7 separate regions of the Homo sapiens genome follow, and regions 1, 3, 4, 5, 6 and 7 are each linked to region 2. The links are contacts of gene promoters, found by promoter capture Hi-C in blood cells and fetal thymus (Javierre and others, 2016). All regions are on one chromosome and are shown on one strand. The core of a region is centred on a gene start or on the middle of the fragment in contact, and the rest is flanking DNA. Distances in the headings are between cores, read along the strand shown.

Region 1 (2,700 bases), core at 124-2,623, 390 kb before region 2:
AAGCAAAAAAGCTTTATGTTTGCATTCTGCTTTCAGATATAAGGCAAGGTAATTATATTTAATAACCCAGTGACTACATTTTATATCTTAAAATTATAAAGTAAGAAAAAAATGGAAAGTGCTTGCATGTGAATGTAATCATACCTTAAAATGATGACCTCAATCTTAAGCAATGCACTTTTATCTTTAGATAACATGTTAAAGCAAAGGCAAATAACTATTCTATCATACAGTGGTCTAATTGTGTTCAGAGAAGAAGAATGACAAATATACAGCAAATGGTTATGAGACGTAGTTTATAATGACAACTTATTTATTATTAACCTGATGAAAAGAAGGCTTAATTGTGAATTTGTGAGCCTTCACAACTAAACAAAAGATCAGTAAGCAAGCAATTCATGTATTGTTCTCCATTTCCACTGAAGACAGCAGCTTAAATTAGTTAAACAAAAGAACATTCTTAACAATATGGCTAAGAATAATAAAAGTAGGAAACACTTCTTGGAGATTTTGGCCATAGAGGGCATGAATCTATAGGTAAAGATTTCTCAGGTGGCTGAAGAATAATTATATACTTCTTGCTGATCATGTGATTCTATGAAAACCTATTGTCTAAATTAATGCAGTAGTGTTTTGTTCCCAGTGAGGGATAATGTCTTTTGCATTTAATGTAAATTCAGTGTTGTCAGCATTGAACTTCACTAATTTAGAAAGTTCCCACTGGTCATTAAGAAAACCCAAATGAGGAACTCTATGTTCTTTGTGACTGCTAGTCAATGATGGAATGGGGTGTTGGGGAGAAACTAGGGGATGTAGATAAAAGGATTGGAAAATGGATAAGAATTAGTGAATAAAATTAAAATAATTTTAATTTTTAAAAGTTAATTAATTAAAAAAATTAAGGACAGTGATTCTCAATCCTGGCTGCAATTAGAATCATGTAGGGATTTTTTTTTTTTAATATCAATCTCCGGTTTTGAAATACCAGTACTGGCCTAGGGTGGATCCCTGGCATAGGTCTTTTTCCAGCCATGTTTGAGAACTGCTATTCTAGGACTTTTAAGGATCTGCAGTGCTCCTAAAATTAAGCAGAGTATGATGGTTAAAAAAACAACTCTACACCAACTATTGCTGCAGAGTATTTTTTTAACATAAGATCCAAATAAATGTTATCAACTGCCCATCAATCCATGGATCTATGAGTGGTGTGACTTAGTAGAAGCATATGTTGTAGTAACAGAAGAGCAATAGATCACTACAGGGAGGTTGTGAAGAATTTTAATAAACTTCTTCAAATAAATGTCTCATTTCTAATCCTTCTAACATCCAAATAAGAGATTCAGCCACCTTAATGAGATAATCTCACATTATCTCATTTAATAATCACAACAACTCCTGAAGTTTATCACAGAATTTCCATTTTATACATATAGAAACCTAAGTTCAAGGTAAGTAATTCAAGTTCACAGATTAGAAATGAAAAAAAAAAAACTGGATTTGAATTCAGGTGTATTGCTTCTAGTCCATTCATTGAGTGAACAGCCACTGAAGTATTAGCTCACAATTTCTCCTATTAAAACTGCAGTCCATTCAACCCATTGTTGAAATACTGAGTCATGTGAAGACAATTACTTGGAAAACAGCCCTATTATTGACTAAAACCATTTTATAAACTGAATTAAAAGTTTTCAGTATCCAAATAAAGACTTGTTTAGGGATTGTGGTTGATTAATTAAATACTATGTCAACTTGTTCTATTCTGAGATATAAAGAAGGGTTGATTGCCTTTAGAAGCCTCAACCACTGAAAAGGCTGTGACGCCTCCCCAACAGCCTCTCATATGTATTTAAAAACAATTTTTGTAATCTGAATTATAAGGCTGGGTGTGGTGGCTCATGCCTGTAATCCCAGCACTTTGAAAGGCTGAGGTAAGGAGGATTGCTTGAGCCCAGGAGTTTGATACCAGCCTGGGCAACATAAAAAGACCCTCATTTCTACCAACAGCAACAAAAAATCAGCCAGGAATGGGGCTCACGCCTGTAGTCCCAGCACTTTGGGAGGCCGAAGTGGGAGGATTGCTTGAGCCCAGGAGGTCAAGACTATTGCACACTGCACTACATAGCCTGGGCAACAGAGTGAGACCCTGTCTCAGAAAACAAAACAAAACAAAAACCCTGAACTATAAAATAAGTGCGATATTGTTCATTAAAGTCTGCTTTTCCCTCTTATAGCTACTTAGGCGGTTTTTGGCTTTTTATGATGCCCTAAGCACATACTTAGTTTGCTCTTTGCTTAGTCTAGTCTGCGATACCAAATGTCCATCTGTAAATTTTCTTTGGCATTGTGCCCTACTTGTATACTTTTCAGTTGATTTGAAAACCAGTCATCAGTTGATACACTAACCTTCTAGATGACAATTGTGATTCGGTTCTCAAGTGGAGAGAGGTTATATTCTCCTGACCTTCAAAGGGAATAATACAAGCTACAGAAGGTTCCCTGCTCCTACCCCAGGTGGGTAGAACAGTTGGTATGGAATGGGATGGGATGGGATGTAACTCATTATGCCACTAGGGTGCATAGAAATCTTGTTCAAAAATTGTGATCTGTGTATTTTGGTAGAGGAAATTTTAATGCTTTTGAAGAGAAAATATTTGAAAGAGTTCTTACTGCCCCTAATAAGCCCAAAGTTAACATTTTTGA
Region 2 (2,855 bases), core at 175-2,674:
GAGGATCCTATCCTTTTACTTAACAAGGCTAAAACAGATGCATACACTTTTAGCTGGCTAGTGCCCACATCTTGGGGAAAGGACCTACCAAGTACACATCTCCTTTTATTACATATTTTAGTCAACTGTATGTCCACCCACCCTTCACATTCATCTATACTTAAGAGGTTAGATTTCTAGAAAATCATGGACTTCTAGAAGGATTAGGGGAAATTTTGGCCACTATAATATCCAACCATCCTCTTTTCCATGTGAGAAAACTGGGGCTCAGGAAGATGTGACATGCCCAAGCACACACATCTATTTAAATACCAGTTGGGATTAGAACCCCAACTCTTTAAGTCTTTTGCACACTAATAAGCAAGGTATTATATGTTCCAGTAGTTCTGTGAGGTGCTTATTCAATCTTTTTGGGATGAAAAGAAACGTCCGTGGTTGCGAATGCATAAAGGTAATTAACCCACCTGTCTGTCCATGTGGGGATGGGATTAACGAGGGGGAAAGTTGCGTTTGTATTTTTCCACCATCTTACCTAAATTTGCAGGAAAATTGCTCTATGGGCAATAAATATGACCCAGAAAGACTAGCAACCCCCAGTAGTATCTCAAAAGGGCTCCAGAGACATGTTAGACCAAGTGGAAGTAAAGCACGAGGTGGGGGATGTCTGCTAGGATGGTGGCTGGCAGAGCAGAGGTATTTTTTTTTCCGTATTTATTAACCTGGGAGGGCAGACGTTGTCAATTTCCTCCTCCTGCCACACAAGTGGCCGCGTCCTTGTCACTGGGGCTGTGTGGAGGTTCTCACCTCCTCCTTTTTCCCAGGGATGTTTATGGCGAGGGCGCGGGTCGGCCCGGGCGGAGGAGGACCCGGGCATCGGCGCTCACCCTCCGTCCCCACCCGCGGCAGCAGCTGTGGGCGCCCGGCGAGGGCTCCCTGGGCAGCGCCTTTGTTTTCCCGACTCCAGTTACGTTTGCGGAAGTGCTGCCAGCACGGGGCGCGCTGGGGGCGCAGGCGGCAGCCTCCCCCAGCACCCCACAAAGATGACACCCGACACGGAAGCCGGGGGAGGGAGGGAGGGAGGGAGCGGCGGGCGAGCGAGGCCCGAGCGGAGACAGCGGCGCACGCTGGGCTCCGAGCCCCGGCCCCGAAGCCCCTTTCCCGGCAGCAGGTGTGCGCGGCTGAGGTGCCTACCCGCCCTCCGGCTGGGCCCGTGCGGGGCGGGGGAGGCCAGGGCGGGTCTGCGAGCCCCTTCTCCGCAAGCCGGGCCCGACTCACCTGCTGCGGCGGCGGCAGCGCTCAGCTGCGCGGGGCGCGGGGAGCCCTGTCCCCGGAGCACGGGGCGGCGGCTCGGGGCGCCGGGGCGGCGGCTGTCGGGGCAGCGCGCACCATCCCGGGCTGCTCGCGCGCTCCTCCGGGGCTGCGACGGGCTGGGCGGGGCGCGGCGAGGCGAGGCGAGGGATGCGGACCGGGTGGGGCCACGGAGGACGGAGGCGGAGGGCCCAGCGCTCCCGCCGGCGCGACCTTCTCTCCCGCTGCGGCTCCTCCTCCTCCCCGGCCCCGGCCTCACAGTCGCCGCCGCCGGTCACTACCGGCTGGACCCGTTTCAGGGCCGGGCGCTGAGGACCGGCCGCCAGGTGCAGCGCTCCGCCTCCTGCGGCGGCGGCGGATGCGTCGACTGCCCGCTCCCGGCCTCCAGCCCGCCCCGGCGGCCCGGAGGGACACCTGAACCCAGCCGGGCCCGGGGAGCACGCTGAGGAGGCGAAAGCACTGGGCGAGGCTCCATCCCTACCGCACCCTCCACCCCCCCGCACCCCCAAGCGACTTCCGCTGAGCCCCCAGGCAATGAGTGCGGGCCAGGAAATGTGGGGGAAAATGTACTAACATCCCTTATTCCTTGAGCGCCTTTTAAGTGGCACACACAATGCTAATGCTGTCAGTGCGTTATCTCCGCGTCTGTCCCAGGTTGACCCGGGAGGGAGGAGCCGGCGGGGTGCGGGAGACAAACGATCTGTGAGTTTCGGGGCTCACCAAGAAGGGGGAACACTGAGACGAAGGCACCCTTTTTCAGGAAGCTGCTACTGGCATCTTGCTGAAAAGCCAACCGTGTGTGTCGCACTAAGAATATAATTAAAGTTGTATTTCTAGTTAAACACGCAGAGAGTTGGGGGAGAGTGGAGTATTCACTTGGCAAGTATGTCTGTGTGCCTGTGATGGGCTTTGGGGGATGCCACATCCTGTTCTTAAGGAGTTTATTGTCTTGTTCTGGCAACAACGACAAGAGTGACAATGGTAGCTAACGGCAACAACGACAAGAGTGACAATGGTAGCTAACGCTTATAAACATCGATTATGTACGGGGCACTGTGTAGGTACTCTTTGAGCCTTATAACCCTATAGGTGTAGGAAACGTTATTCCCATTTTACAACTGAGGAAAGCCGAGGCTGAAAGTTAATGTGACCCATCCAAAGTTACTAAACAGCGAAAGGGAAAGCAGGCTTCTTTTGTCTCCAGGCTTTAAGCTCTTAACCGTGAAATCATACTGGTAAGAATTTGATAGGCCCTGAAGTTTCTGAATTTTGAGTCCCTCTTTAGGAAGAATAAAACAATTACAAATACGAAGTTTCTAGGGCCCCTTCCTGAGCTTATGAAGGGTCTCTGAAGCTTAAACTATAGTAGCCTCATGCTAAATCCACTTTCAATATTGACGTAGATATTCAATCATTTCTTTCTCCAGGCATTTCTTTCTCCTGTCAGGAACACGAGACACTGGTCCCCTCCTTGAAACTCTTCCCTTCTCTTCTTTTGGTGCTCCGTAAGTGTTGGATTTTCCTCCTTGAAACTCTCCCCTCCTCTG
Region 3 (2,790 bases), core at 124-2,623, 310 kb before region 2:
TGCCCCCAGGAGGCTTCCTCCTTCTTCTTTTAACTGCTTGCACATCTTTAAGACTCAGCCTTGGAGACACGTCTTTTAAAAAGCCTTGAATGGGCCTGGGAAGTGGCTCACACCTGTAATCCCAGCACCTTCAGAGGCCAAAGTGGGAGGATCACTTGAGGCCAGGAGTTCAAGACTAGCCTGGACAACATGGTGAAAGCCCGTCTCTACTAAAAACACAAAAATTAACCGGGTATGATGGCACACACCTGTAATCCCAGCTACTCAGGAGCCTGAGGCATGAGAATCACTTGAACCTGGGGAGGCTGCAGTGAGCCAAGATTGAACACCACTGCTCTCCAGCCTGGGCAACAGAGCAAGACTCTGTCTCAAGAAAAAAAAAAAAAAAGATACCTTCTCTGACCACTCCCTCTATTCTTCCCTTTCCCATAACACTAAGTCATATGCGCCCAAAACAATTTGTGCACATCTCCATCAGTGAGTGGTTTTCCATGATGGTCATCCTCCCCGACTAGGCTGGTGTATTCTAGTGTGCTCACCTTTGGGGGTCTCTACTACTGATTATTTGCAAGACCTAAGGCAACTTATTTCACTTTGTAAGCTTCTGTTTCCTCAACTACAAAACCAGGTTATTAATAGAAATTGTATGTAAGGAACCTAGCACAATGCTTGATATACAGTAAGTGCAAAGTATGTTAAATGTTTAATAAATTAATGTCATAGGAACACCATTAGAAAACTCCTTAAAAGAAAAATATTTATTTTTTAAGCACTTGTAGGGACAAGGAGCTTGTCCCCTTGTTTGATAATTCTATTTATAGTGTAACTGAAGCCATCGTAGTTTGACTCACACTAGTTTTATTGACAAAAATGAGTGCCCTCTGCCCCTACTCCCAGTGTCCCCTGTTCTGCTAAAGAATCTTGAGACTCTCTCAAGGTGCTCTGTCATGTGTATTCAGAAACTGGTCCCTCTGGGGCAAAGCTGTTCTCAGCTGGTGCCTGTGGCTGCCACCACTGCTGTGGCCTGAGGACAGAAGTCATAACCCTCCTCTGCTTTGCCTCAGGGGTTGGTTGTGGACCTTTCCCCTTAATTCCTCTCAGGACATCAGAAGTCAAAATATTTGAGACACTGATCAGATCACAATAAAGGTTCAGGGACAATGGAAAGGAAACAGAAAACAGAGAATAAGTCAGTGCCAGGCACAGGTCCTTCCCCCTCCAGGAGGAAGTGCCCTGGGGACTCAACAGTCACCTTTCCTGGGAAATCCAGTCAGACTGACTCTAGTCCCAGCATTCTGATTTCCCGCCCCATGACTGACCTCTTCTGAGGACAGCTGGCAGTGAGCAGTTCCAGTCCCTTCAGGGGAAACCCCACCTGCATAATCTCAGGGTGATTCATCGCCAGTGCAATTCCCCAAAGCCCCATCATTCAGTCTTGCCTGTTGCCACTCTGTTGATCATGAAAATCGTGGCTACCACATCTAGTTTACTAAACAATCCTTGTTCGTAGGAAGTACAGGCGTGAAATAATTTATTTTTCTACAGTCACTTGCCTTCAGTTCTGCCATGTTCACGATCTCTCTGCTGAGTTCCCTGACAATATCTTGGTTAGATCTCTAGGGTTCCAGTCACTTTCAAAGATTAACAGCCCGATTCGGTATAGTCTGTGAACGCTGAAGGTCTGAGACAGGGCTCGGTTAATTTAGAAAGTTTATTTTGCCAAGGTTGAGGATGCACCCATGACACAGCCTCAGGAAGTCCTGAAGACATGTGCCCAATGTGGTCGGGGCACAGCTTGGTTTTATACATTTTAGGGAGACATGAGACATCAATCAACATATGTAAGAAGTACATTGGTTCCATCTGGAAAGGCAGGACGACTTGAAGTAAAGGCAGGAAGACTCGAAGCGGGGAGGGAGCTTCCAGGTCACAGATAGCTGATACACAAACGGTTACATTCTTCTGGATTTCTGATTAGCCTTTCCAAAGGAGGCAAGTCAGATATGAATCTATCTCAGTGAGCAGAGGGGAGACTGCGAATAGAATGCGAGACACGTTTGCCCTAAGCAGTTTCCAGCTTGAGTTTTCCTTAGTGATTTTGGAAGCCCAAGATATTTTCCTTTCGCAAGTCCAATTTAAAGCTTCCGTCTGGGTCCAATGCAATGACCAATGTCCACTCCGCCAGCCCTGGCCAGCCCCCACCAGAGGGACTCAGGGTGTGGAGTAGCACACCTGCTCCGGCAGCATCCTCCTCTATTCTGTGCAGTCCTCCCATCTGTGTGGACTAGTGAGGAGGAACAGGAGAGACAGACAAGTGTTTCTCACCTGCCTGGCCAGGGCTGGCAGCTGGTGGCAGACATCCAAATACTGGCTTCCTCACTGATGCTTATGTGAATTTTCCAGAAGCCCCACAGATGCCTCCCACTTCACAGTCTCTACCATCTGCTCCTACCCTTGGTGATTCACCCCACTGGTTTTTATTGTTGTTGTTGTTACCAGGGTCCACTTTCCTGGCAGCCAGTTCTCTTGGGTGGGATATGGGTGAGACAGGCTCAAGGCTGGCTGCTTTCTATGCGTTCCTTTGATCTGTGAAATCACACTTCCATCACCAAATGCTAAATGGTAGGCATGGGAGCTGCAGCACTCTACCCTTTCTCTCTGCCTCCTTCCAATTCTCTTTTCTACTTGTCACATTGGACAGAGGTGGGCCAGGCCGTCTACGTATAAGCAGACATCAAATTGGTGAGTGAGGAGGGAGCAGGAAAAGCACCTCCTCACTCTGCAGCCCCC
Region 4 (2,978 bases), core at 238-2,737, 480 kb before region 2:
AAGTGCACAAGTTCTTGAATCCTGGCTGTAATACTATAGTTGTGTAACCTTGGGTAAATTAATTAACCTTTCTGTGATCCAGTTTCCTCATCTGAGAAAGGGAATAAAACAGTGCCTCCCTCATAGGGTTGTGGTGAGGATCAGTTGACTCAATACATTCAATATCTTTAGAACATGTCTGGCAGAGAGTAAGACTCCACTGACAGTAGTTGTAGTTATTATTTCTAAAGTGATCTAGGTTTACATATCCTAGTCAGCCCTTTGCATCCATAGATTCAACCAACACGGATAAAAAATATTCAGAAAAAAAATAAAAAAACGTACATTCAAAAGATAGTATAAGACTTATTTACATAGCATTTACATTTTATTAGGTATTATAAGTAATCTAGAGATGATTTAAAATATATGGGAGGATATATGTAGGTTATAGGCAAATATTATGCCATTTTACATAAGAGACTTGAGCTGTGGGGGACCTGGAACCAATCTCTTAACATATACAGAAGGACAAGGCAAGACTGTATACATCAAATTCTACAAATCATAAAGACTATTAAAAGAAAAACGTTACCAATAAGTATGCATTAAAAATCTTAATTAACTAAACTAGTGTAACACTAAAATGCTATGATTAACCAAACTTTTAAATACTGAATGTCACACAAATGTTTTTTAAAAACACATAGCTTTATCATTAAAATATTTAATGACATATCCTGATACATAATTATTCCCTGAAACTGTTTTTGCTCTTAGACAACTTCTAAAAATGCATTTGAAGCTGGGCGTGGCAGCTCACGCCTATAATCCCAGCACTTTGGGAGGCTGAGGCAGGAGGATCACTTGAGGTCAGGAGTTCGAGATCAGCCTGGCCAACACGGTGAAACCCCATCTCTACTAAAAATAGAAAAACTAGCCAGACGTTGTGGCAGGCGCCTGAATCCCGGCTACTTGGGAGGCTGAGGCAGGAGAATAGCTTGAACCCGGGAGGTGGAGGTTGCAGTGAGCCAAGATCGTGCCACCACACTCCAGAGTGGGTAACAGAGCGAGACTCTGTCTCCAAAAAAAATACATTTGGGATGTTTTAGTAATAATAACTACAATATATTGATCACTTACTTATATTCTACACACTGTGCTAAGTGTTTTACATGCATTCTAACTTAATCCTCCAAGGATTTTATGACAGAGGTACTACTGTTATCCAAAACATAGTATGATTTCTGGTACATACTTAGAAGCTCAACAAATTTGTTATTTGTTCAAAAAAATGACTACCTCTGTCCCCATTTCACAGATTAGGAAACAGAGGCTCAGAGGTTAAGAAGCTTTCCAAGGTTACACAATGGCAAAGATGGATTTTTCTGAATCCAAACTACTGCTACATTATACTGGCTCTCTAACTTACTAGCTTGTTATTACTTTTATAAGGTACAAACAAGTTTTCTAGGTCTTATCCTGACCTAATACCATTAAACACAGCTTAACAATACTCACCACCTAATATTCAAAGAAAAAACTGAACCAGCTGTCAAAAAATCAGTGGATAATAACATACCAATTATTTACAGCAAATGGTTGGTCAAATAAACTTCAGATAGTGGTAGTTTGTCACTTTAAAAAACTGCAGAATAAGCTTTCTATGTATTTATCACACAAGTAAATGGTATTTGCTTTGCCTAAAAGCTATGTAAATAACGTAAAATATACACTTTTTTAGCTTATGGCACATAGTGAAAAAAAATTAAAATGACCACGTTATTGCCAAAGCTAGCAAAAAAAGACAAATGTTTACTTGCTTTTAAACAAGAAATTAATTTTTATCTATAGGGGAAAGAATTTAAGCCAGCCCTAAAAAATAAGCTCACAAAATAAGCTGTCAAAACTGATAAAAAGAAATTACTACCTATTTCAGCATTTGAAACCTCAGATTTTGATCTGAGAATGAATTCGCTTCAACAGTCTGGCGAACAAACATACTCAAATATTCTCCTCAAACTTTCCACAAGGCAGAAACTACTCAAGATCATTCATGCCTTAACCCCCCTTTTCTCTCCCTAAATTAATTCTTTCTGGTAATTCTTCACAATAATGTATTTTTCATTAAAATTCAAAAGCTAAAAACTATAGCTTTTGGTAACTATATAGTAACTAGGAAATCCTTGAGAGAAGTATTTAAGTTTTAATGACAAATAGGATTATAGCAATCTTTCAAATCTTATCATCAACAATTATTAATAACCCAAATGAATCCTCCAGATTCCCCTGAAGAGAAAAACATAAAATGGTTATGATATTCAGCAATTCAAATAGGATATAACAGAAGATAATCTGAAGGAAAATCCTTATTTCTCACCTTTTTACTTCTTCTCCAACTTATACTGTCTCTCTCGTTTCCTTTCTAAATGCTGCCTTTAAGATCATCTTACCATCATATTGTTTCTTCTTTTACCCATTCCTTCCCCTACTTTAGCCTTTAACTGTCTTAAAAAATAATTTCTTAATGAAAAAGAAGAAAAATCCCATGCCATGTATGACATCATGTTAGACATCATTTACAGTCTAGAAGAAGTAGGAGACATGTACATAAAATGAGGAATTACAAGAATAGATCTATGACATCCAGACTTTGGAAAACTACTTCACTGTGGTCTAATAAGGTCAAGCTTTTTTTTAGATGAGGTGGAATCTGAGCTAAACCTGAAAGATGGGTAAGAGCTGGAAGCATGGCAACAGAAAAAGATTTCTGGCAAACAGACCAAAGGGATGAAAGTAAGCATTCACTTAGTGTTTATAAAGAACAAAAAACAGCTAGAGCACAGAATGTGTGAATTAAGGTGCCTGTTTCTACCTATAGGCTATTATATGAATACTTAATTTTTTAGTGTTGAGAATATATATATTCTGAATATATATATCTGAGGTAAATGAGGAGACTACCTTCCAAAATCTACATTAAGTTTAAATGCAGGGCC
Region 5 (2,782 bases), core at 49-2,548, 320 kb after region 2:
TTTCAGGGATGATCTCTGTAATTTTTTCCTCTCCAATTATTCAAGCAGGTAGCCAGGTTCTTTTCTACTTTTTTGTGTGTGTCCGGAATTTTTTGCATGGGGAAAACTTAAGCCATCTGAGGTTTTAAAACTCCTTATCTTTTATACAAAAGATTATGGTAGGAGCCCTGGAGAAGGAAGGGAGAAGAGGGCTTTAAGTAAAAAGAACAAGATAGAAGATTGTCCCATTCTGACTAGAAAGGTTATAGAGGTTTATTGGTTTCATGACCAATTGGGAACACTATAGAGCCTGCTCTGAGGATGCCCCTGAGCAGGGTGGAAAGACCTCAGGGTGGAAGGGTTCATGATGTATGATTCAAAACCTAACTGGAAGACAGACAGAAGTAGAGATCGACATTGATTCACAGGCAAGTGGCACTTTGGCCAAGGAGTCAGCGGGTTGGAAAACAGAATTTGAGGAATGGTTAAAGGGAGGCCTGAGGAAGAGTTTTAGGACGGGCCTCTCAGAGTAAGCAGAGTGAGAATATCTGTGTCCCAAATTAATGCTTACTAAAAGGCATCCACTGTAAAACAGATTCTCAGTAATCAAGTAAAGAGTATGGCCAATCCTGTGGATGCCAGTTAGCTGCCTCCCCTAGCTACCCTGGCGCTTGTACAATGGGCCCATGAACACTTTGGCCCTAGCAACGGGCATGTTGATCACGTGTGGGCTTAAGAACATAGGATTCTTTTCTCCCACTATGATCTGGCTAGTCTCACTGATGAGAGATTTAAGGAATCTGAGTTGAAGAAATGGTTTCATGTCTGTTGGAAAAATCTGACTTGATTAAATGGTAGAATAATCTATTGACAACTTATGTTGCCACTTGTAAGACTAGGTTGCTGTCCCACAAGTTATTGTATATTTCCCAAGCCAGCAACTAATATATAATGCTATTTCTTCCATAGCCAGAATACTTAGATCTGAAAATGAAAGTGTAAAAGTATTGGTGGTTCCATTATTATTCCTAATGACCTACTCACATAACTTTTGTTTCCAACCTCACAATGTTGTGCTCTTAGTTTCCATGGAAGGAATACTTTTTCCAGGAAACACTAGAAGGGTTCCTTTGAATGGAAGCTGAGACTGCCACATCAGCCACTTTGAGGTCTTCAAGGCACTGAACCAACAAGGAAAGAAAGGGATTACTGTATTCGCTGGGACAATTAATCCTAATCATAAAGTGGGAAAAGTGGTGGTACTACAAAACAGAGGGAAGACCATGTCTCAAAGGCAAGACATTCTCTGAGCAACTCCTTTCATATCCATATCTGAGCAATTCCTTCCATATCCATGGTAAAATTTACAAGATTAGAGCAAACCAAGCCAAGCAAGAACCACAATGGTTCAGATATTTCAGGAATGAAGGTTCAGGTCACTCTGACTGATAAATAATAACACCTAGCTAAAATGATAACTGAGCAAAGGGAGCATGGGAAGGGAAGTGGAAGAGGGAGTTACAAATACCTACTATGGCCTCATAAATTGTGTAGACTGCAACCATCGTGCATATTTTCTAATGTTTCTCTTTCCCCATCTTCCTTGAGGTCTTTGAGGATTTGAACCTAATTATGGAATAGGTCAGGGTCTGGAAGTGATAAGTAGTGAGAATTAACATTTAGGAGATTCGTCATCTTCCTGCAAATAAACCACCTCAGGTGAAATTATTACAGGTTATCAGATGGAAGAGGAGGACTGCTCCTACTAACAACTAAGACTCAGTGGAGTTTGTTAATTCAGGCAACAATTGGTGATATTTTAAGGAATGTTTTGTCATTACATTGTACAAATTATCAGTATCCTATTTTCCATTGATAGTGAGGCCATTACTGATTTCAAGTCTAATCTATGTGTATGTTAACATCCGCAATGTGCTTATACTATGTGATAGATTTCTTTGGAGGAAGGGAAACACAAGTGAAGGATTTGTAGTTGGATTCATTAGAACCTACCCAAATATTTCCATTCACAGGATCCCACTCTACTAACCTATGCCTAGAAAGGCTGCACTGTAATGCTGAAAGCTGTAGAAGCAAATTTAGGTTTGTTTTTTGGCTATTTCAGCCCCACTGGTACAAGAAACAAGACAGTCTTTTAGGTAGTTTCTAGTGCAAGCAGAACCTTTCCCATGGCCTTCGTGCTCATAATTTCCACTATAATATTTTATTGCACCAGTTACTTCATCTCTTAAGCCTTGCTGCTGAGAGGCACCTGGTTACCAGCAACAAAAGCTGATCATTTAAGAAATGTTTTGTCACTGTATGGTATGGATGATCAGTGTCCTATTTTCCATTGACAGTGAGGTCATTACCAATTTCAAATCTAATCTATGTATACATTAACATCTACAACGTGCTCATACTATGTGATAAGTTGTTCAGGGGGAAGGGGAACACAAATGAAGGAAAGAAATGGCCCATGGCCTCAAGTACGTTGTGATCTTATAATCAGTAGCTAAAAGAGTTCTGCTAAACTTCAGAGAGGAAATGGGATTCTTTCAGCTGCCTCATTCCCTCTTCACTAGATGATCAGTGAACGCTATATTTGTTAAGCTGAATTAGAGACGAGAGAAACTATTTCTTGGAGTGCTAAGTACTGATCTCGTATTTCTCACAGAAGCGGTGTTAAAAATGACAGTTAAGCTTTCACACTAATTCTTCAAGGCCTATTGAACCCAAAATGTTACTGAAATACACTGTTATTTGCATATAAAATATTGTAAATATCTGGCAAAATTATGAA
Region 6 (2,924 bases), core at 77-2,576, 350 kb before region 2:
TTTCTGATGCCTTTTCAAATGTGGACCAGATAGAGAAACACTAGCCTTCCACCACCTCCATCATCACCTCCTATTTGAAGACAGCTTCTAACAGGAGCTGACTTACCATAGGCCCCAGATCAGTCTGGGTAAAGGACTCTGGGGTTTCAAATTAGAGCCTGAGAAGTCTAAGCAAGAACCTGGAATGTGCCAAAAGTATGTGTTAGAATTAAAGCAAACAGCCATTCTATATTTACTTGGAGGACAAAGAAAGTCATTTAAAAAAATAGGCAACATCCTGGTGCAGAATTTAAATGTATACTTACATTACTTGAAGATTTCCTCATCAAGAAACAAATTTCCATTTCTAATCGCCCTTTTCTTGTGTCCTCTGTACAGATTGCAATTAAGAGGAATATCTACAGAAAACTTAAAATTGTCATAAGTAGCACATGTATTTTTGATGCATTCAAAATAGAGATAGTCCAGGTGCAGTGGCTTACACCTGTAATCCCAGCATTTTGGGAGGCCGACTCAGGAGGATTGCTTGAGGCCAGGAATTGGAGGCTGCAGTGAGCTATGATCACACCACTGAACCCCAGCCTGGGCAACAGTGCAAGACCTTGTCTTCAAAAAAGGAAAGAAAAACAGGCCGGGCGTGGTGGCTCACGCCTGTAATCCTAGCACTTTGGGCGAGCGGATCACTTGAGGTCAGGAGTTTGAGACCAGCCAGGCCAACATGGCGAAACCCCATCTCTACTAAAAATACAGAAGTTAGCCGGTTATGGTGGCACATGCCTGTAATCCCAGCTACTCGGGAGGCTGAGGCAGGAGAATTGCTTGAACCCAGGAGGCAGAGGTTGCAGTGAGCCGAGATTGCGCCACTGCACTCCAGCCTGGGCAACAGAGCGAGACTCCGTCTCAGGAAAAAAAAAAAAAAAAGGAAAAATAGAGAGAGGCTGAAGTTATCAAAATAGAATGATATCTCAAAATAAGAAGTACTGTTGAGAGGTGACAGTGTGCTGGCAGTTCTCACAGCCCTTGCTCGCTCTCGGCGCCTCCTCTGCCTGGGCTCCCACTTTGGCGGCACTTGAGGAGCCCTTCAGCCCACCGCTGCACTGTGGGAGCTCCGTTCTGGGCTGGCCAAGGCCGGAGCCGGCTCCCTCAGCTTGCAGGGAGGTGTGGAGGGAGAGGCGCGAGCGGGAACCGGGGCTGCGCGCGGCGCTTGCGGGCCAGCTGGAGTTCCGGGTGGGCGTGGGCTTGGCGGGCCCCGCACTCGGAGCAGCCGGCCGGCCCGGCCGGCCCTGCCGGCCCCGGGCAATGAGGGGCTTAGCACCCGGGCCAGCGGCTGCGGAGGGTGTACTGGGTCCCCCAGCAGTGCCGGCCCACCGGCGCTGCACTCGATTTCTCACCGGGCCTTAGCTGCCTTCCCGCGGGGCAGGGCTCGGGACCTGCAGCCCGCCATGCCTGAGCCTCCGACCCCCTCCGTGGGCTCCTGTGCGGCCCGAGCCTCCTTGACGAGCGCCACCCCCTGCTCCATGGCGCCCAGTCCCATCGACCACCCAAGGGCTGAGGAGTGCGGGCGAACAACGCGGGACTGGCAGGCAGCTCCATCTATCTGCAGCCCCGGTGCGGGATCCACGAGGTGAAGCCATCTGGGCTCCTGAGTCTGGTGGGGACGTGGAGAACCTTTATGTCTAGCTCAGGGATTGTAAATACACCAATCAGCACTCTGTATCTAGCTCAAGGTTTGTAAAAACACCAATCAGCACCCTGTGTCTAGCTTAGGGTTTGTGAATGCACCAATCGACACTCTGTATCTAGCTACTCTGGTGAGGCCTTGGAGAACCTTTGTGTCCACACTCTGTATCTAGCTAATCTGGTGTGGACTTAGAGAACCTTTCTGTCTAGCTCAGGGATTGTAAAGGCACCAATCAGCGCCCTGTCAAAACAGACCACTGGGCTCTACCAATCAGCAGGAAGTGGGTGGGGCCAGATAAGAGAATAAAACCAGGCTGCCTGAGCTAGTAGTGGCAACCAGCTTGCGTCCGTTTCCATGTTGTGGGAGATTTGTTCTTTCGCTCTTTGTGGTAAATCTTGCTACTGCTCACTCTTTGAGTCCACACTGCTTTTATGAGCTGTAACACTCACCGGGAAGGTCTGCAGCTTCAATCCTGAAGCCAGCGAGGCCACCAGCCCACCGGGAGGAACGAACAACTCCAGACGCACCGCCTTAAGAGCTGTAACACTCACCGCGAAGGTCTGCAGCTTCACTCCTGAGCCAGCGAGACCACGAACCCACCAGAAGAAAGAAACTCCGAACACATCCGAACACCAGAAGGAACAAACTCCAGACGCGCCAACTGTAACACTCACCGCGAGGATCCGTGGCTTCATTCTTGAAGTCAGTGAGACCAAGAACCCACCAATTCCGGACACACTGTGAGTCAGGATCAGTCTTATTATAGCTAATTAGAGCAACCCCATTGCTAAAGAGTTTAGAGCCTGGGTCAGACTTCATGGTAGCAAAGCAATGTTTTATTGTAATAGTGTAATTAGGAATGTGTGGCAATATTTTAACCCCTCCTCCCAAGAGTTCCACAATGCTTTCTTAACATGTTTATAAATATTTGCTTTTGTGCCATTTTAGGGGAGCTTTCCGTACAAACATTTGGCTTTTAATGAGTCATCCACACTCTGATTCATACCCATAAGCTTCCTGCTTTGTTATCAGTGAATATTGGGCTCAGTAACTGCCTTACTTTTATAATTTACATGAATGAATATGGAAAAGGTGGTGGAGGTAGAAAGACATATTCAGGTAAATATAAAAACACCCTGGTTTCTTTACAAGAGATTGACAAATACGGCCCAATACCCTATCATTTAAAGTAAGTGCCAGAATTGTGATGGATTTGTGTTTGGCCTTAAAAAAAAATAAAAAT
Region 7 (2,700 bases), core at 56-2,555, 460 kb before region 2:
GTTGGAGACAGGTGTTGATATGGTTTGGCTGTGTCCCCACTCAAATCTCATCTTGAATTCCCATGTGTTGTGGGAGGGACCTGGTGGCAAGTAATTGAATCATGGGGGCAGGTTTTTCCTGTGCTGTTCTCCTGATAGTGAATCCGTCTCATGAGATCTGATGGTTTTAAAAAGGGGAATTTCCCCACACAAGCTCTCTTCTCTTGTCTGCTACCATGTGAGATGTGCCTTTTACCTTCCGCCATGATTGTGGGGCCTCCCCAGCCGCGTGGAACTGTAAGTCCATTAAACTTCTTTCTTTTGTAAATTGCCCAGTCTCAGGTATGTCTTTATCAGCAACATGAAAATGGACTAATACAGGTATCAATTGCTAAATGTTATGGCTAGAGATATTATAAGTTAATAAGGTCACATGGCTAATTAATAATAGAGTTGCTGAAAACATACCCTTCAGCTAGATCTGGCACTTATCCTCATTTCTTTTGAACCATCAGTGAAATGCCCACCCAAAGACTCTGCTGTGGCTTGAATGTCCTTGACAAAACTCACATTGCAATTTAATTGGCCAGGCGTGGTGGCTCACACCTGTAATCTCAGCACTTTGGGAGACTGAGGAAGGCAGATCATTTGAGGTCAGGAGTTTGGACCAGCCTGGGCAACATGGTGAAACCTAGTCTCTACTAAAAAAAAAAAAATTAGCCAGGTATGGTGGCACATGCCTGTGGCATGTGGTGTGGTGGCACATGCCTGTAGCATGGTGGTATGGTGGCACATGCCGGTAGCATGTGGTATGGTGGCCTGTAGCATGGTGGTATATGCCAGGTATGGTGGCACATGCCTCCTGAGACCCAGGAGGCTTGAACCCAGGAGGCGGAGGTTGCAGTGAGCTGAGATTGCACCATTACACTCCAGCCTGGGTGACAGAGCAAGACTCTGTCTCAAAAAAAAAAAAAAAAATTAATTGCCATTTTAACAATATTAAGAGGTAGGGCCTTTAGGAGGCGATTAGGTCATGAGGGCTCTGCCCTCATGAATGGATTAATGCCATTATCATAGAAATGGGTTAGTTATTGCAGGAGTGGGCTCCTGATAAAAGATTAAGTTCAACTCCCATTTGTTCTCTCTGACTCACACTCATTTGCCATGTGATGCCTTCCTCCATGAGATGACTCTCATCAATTGCTGACACCATATTCTTGGACATCTTGGCCTCCAGACCATGAGCCAAATAAATCTCTTTTCTTCATAAATTACCCAATCTGTGGTATTTTGTCCCAGCAGCAGAAAATGGCCTGAGAGAGAACATTGTTATTGAGAAGTGGAGCTGTTGCTATAACAAATACCTGAAAATATGGATATGGCTTTGAAACAGGGTAATGGGTAGAGGCTGGAAGAATTTGAGGAGCAAGCTAGCAAAGGCCTAGATTGTCCTAAACAGAGCATTAAGGGTGATTCTGGTGAGGGTTCAGAAAAGAAGAAATGCAGGGAAAGTAGGTGATACGGTTTAGATTTGTGTCCCCGCCCAAATTTCATGTCTGAATTTTAATCCCCAGTATTGGAGGAGGAGCCTGGTGGAGGGGATTGGATCATGGGGACAGACTACCTCCTTGCTGTTCTTGTGATGGTGAGTTCTCATGAGATCTCATTGTTTAAAAGTGTGTAGCACCTCCCCCTGCTCTCTCTTCCTCCTCCTCCGGCCATGTAAGACATGCGTCCTTCCTCTTTGCTTTCCGTCATGATTGTAAGTTTCCTGAATTCTTCCCATCCATGCTTCCTGTACAGCCTGGGGAACTGTGAGTCAATTAAACCTCTTTTCTTTATAAAGTACCCAGTCTCAGGTAGGTCTTTATAGCAATGCAAGAACAGATTAATACAATCTGGCACTTCTTAGAGATTACTTAAGTGCTCACAGCCACAATGTTGGTAGAAATATGAACAGTAAAGGCCATTCTAATGAGGTCTCAGATGGAAATGAAGAAGGTATTAGAAACTGGAGTAAAGACCATCCTTGTTATAAAGTAGCAAAGACCTTAGTTGAATTGTGTCCATGCCCTAGGCTTTATGGTATGCAGAACTTAAGAGCAATGAACTAGGATATCTGGTGGAAAAAATATCTAAGCAGCAATACTTCCAGGCTGCTGGAGCTACCTTTAACTGCATACAGTGAGATGCAAGAGGAAATAAATGACTTAAAAACAGAATTTATTGGAAAACAAAAATAAAATTCTAGCCCCAAACCGACTGAACAGACCTCTTTCTTGACCAAGGAGATTTCAAAGAAACCTGAAAAACTAGTTCAGACCATGCTTCATTATACTCCCTTCCATTTTAAGTTTAGATACAACTAATCAGCATTAACAATAAAGTAGAGATACAGCTGGGTGCAGTAACTTATGCCTGTAATCCCAGCACTTTGGGCAGCTGAGGCTGAGGGGATCACCTGCGGTCAAGAGATTGAGACCATCCTGGCCAACATGGTGAAACCCTGTCTCTACTAAAAATAGAAAAATTAGCTGGGCGTAGTGGCATGTGCCTGTAATCCCAGCTACTCGGGAGGCTGAGGCAGGAGAATCACTTGAACCTGGGAAGCAGAGGTTGCAGTGAGCCGAGATTGCATCACTGCACTCCAGCCTGGCAATAGAGTGAGACTCCATCTCAAAAAATCAAAACAAAACAAAAACACATTAAAATAGAGATACT

What was found. Contacts are between HindIII fragments. The CHiCAGO score rates a contact against its expected background, and 5 or more counts as called.
Region 1: a contact is called between a fragment that was not itself captured here and the fragment with the promoter of MFSD6 in region 2, in 8 of 17 cell types (activated CD4 T cells, M2 macrophages, M1 macrophages and 5 more). The highest score is 9.7, in activated CD4 T cells.
Region 3: a contact is called between a fragment that was not itself captured here and the fragment with the promoter of MFSD6 in region 2, in 1 of 17 cell types (activated CD4 T cells). The highest score is 5.5, in activated CD4 T cells.
Region 4: a contact is called between a fragment that was not itself captured here and the fragment with the promoter of MFSD6 in region 2, in 1 of 17 cell types (fetal thymus). The highest score is 5.0, in fetal thymus.
Region 5: a contact is called between a fragment that was not itself captured here and the fragment with the promoter of MFSD6 in region 2, in 1 of 17 cell types (erythroblasts). The highest score is 5.2, in erythroblasts.
Region 6: a fragment that was not itself captured here is called in contact with the fragment with the promoter of MFSD6 in region 2 in 5 of 17 cell types (activated CD4 T cells, M2 macrophages, M1 macrophages and 2 more); the score reaches 7.8 in activated CD4 T cells.
Region 7: a contact is called between a fragment that was not itself captured here and the fragment with the promoter of MFSD6 in region 2, in 2 of 17 cell types (total CD8 T cells and fetal thymus). The highest score is 6.6, in total CD8 T cells.

The regions. Positions count from the first base shown.
Region 1 is chr2:190,798,219-190,800,918 of GRCh38, reverse strand. No RefSeq gene overlaps it. Among named protein-coding and RNA genes, the nearest start is that of GLS, 81 kb to the left of the region's middle. The HindIII fragment of the contact is 2,719 bases long and covers 14-2,700 here.
Region 2 is chr2:190,406,924-190,409,778 of GRCh38, reverse strand. It overlaps MFSD6 (major facilitator superfamily domain containing 6), which reads right to left and starts at 1,424. Exons shown (of 8, transcript NM_017694.4): 1 at 1,276-1,424. RefSeq lists a silencer at 804-1,843 and an enhancer at 2,104-2,153. The HindIII fragment of the contact is 2,674 bases long and covers 1-2,664 here.
Region 3 is chr2:190,717,513-190,720,302 of GRCh38, reverse strand. No RefSeq gene overlaps it. Among named protein-coding and RNA genes, the nearest start is that of NAB1, 70 kb to the right of the region's middle. The HindIII fragment of the contact is 1,540 bases long and covers 604-2,143 here.
Region 4 is chr2:190,891,689-190,894,666 of GRCh38, reverse strand. The region is part of intron 1 of GLS (glutaminase); the gene reads right to left. Among named protein-coding and RNA genes, the nearest start is that of GLS, 12 kb to the right of the region's middle. The HindIII fragment of the contact is 308 bases long and covers 1,334-1,641 here.
Region 5 is chr2:190,085,272-190,088,053 of GRCh38, reverse strand. It overlaps a transcript of AKAP19 not described here. Among named protein-coding and RNA genes, the nearest start is that of MSTN, 24 kb to the right of the region's middle. The HindIII fragment of the contact is 2,772 bases long and covers 1-2,684 here.
Region 6 is chr2:190,759,589-190,762,512 of GRCh38, reverse strand. LOC124907946 (a long non-coding RNA gene) reads left to right here and starts at 2,012. Exons shown (of 2, transcript XR_007087780.1): 1 at 2,012-2,421. RefSeq lists an enhancer at 1,505-2,704. The HindIII fragment of the contact is 2,741 bases long and covers 1-2,696 here.
Region 7 is chr2:190,870,225-190,872,924 of GRCh38, reverse strand. No RefSeq gene overlaps it. Among named protein-coding and RNA genes, the nearest start is that of GLS, 9.2 kb to the left of the region's middle. RefSeq lists an enhancer at 2,564-2,700. The HindIII fragment of the contact is 3,363 bases long and covers 1-2,700 here.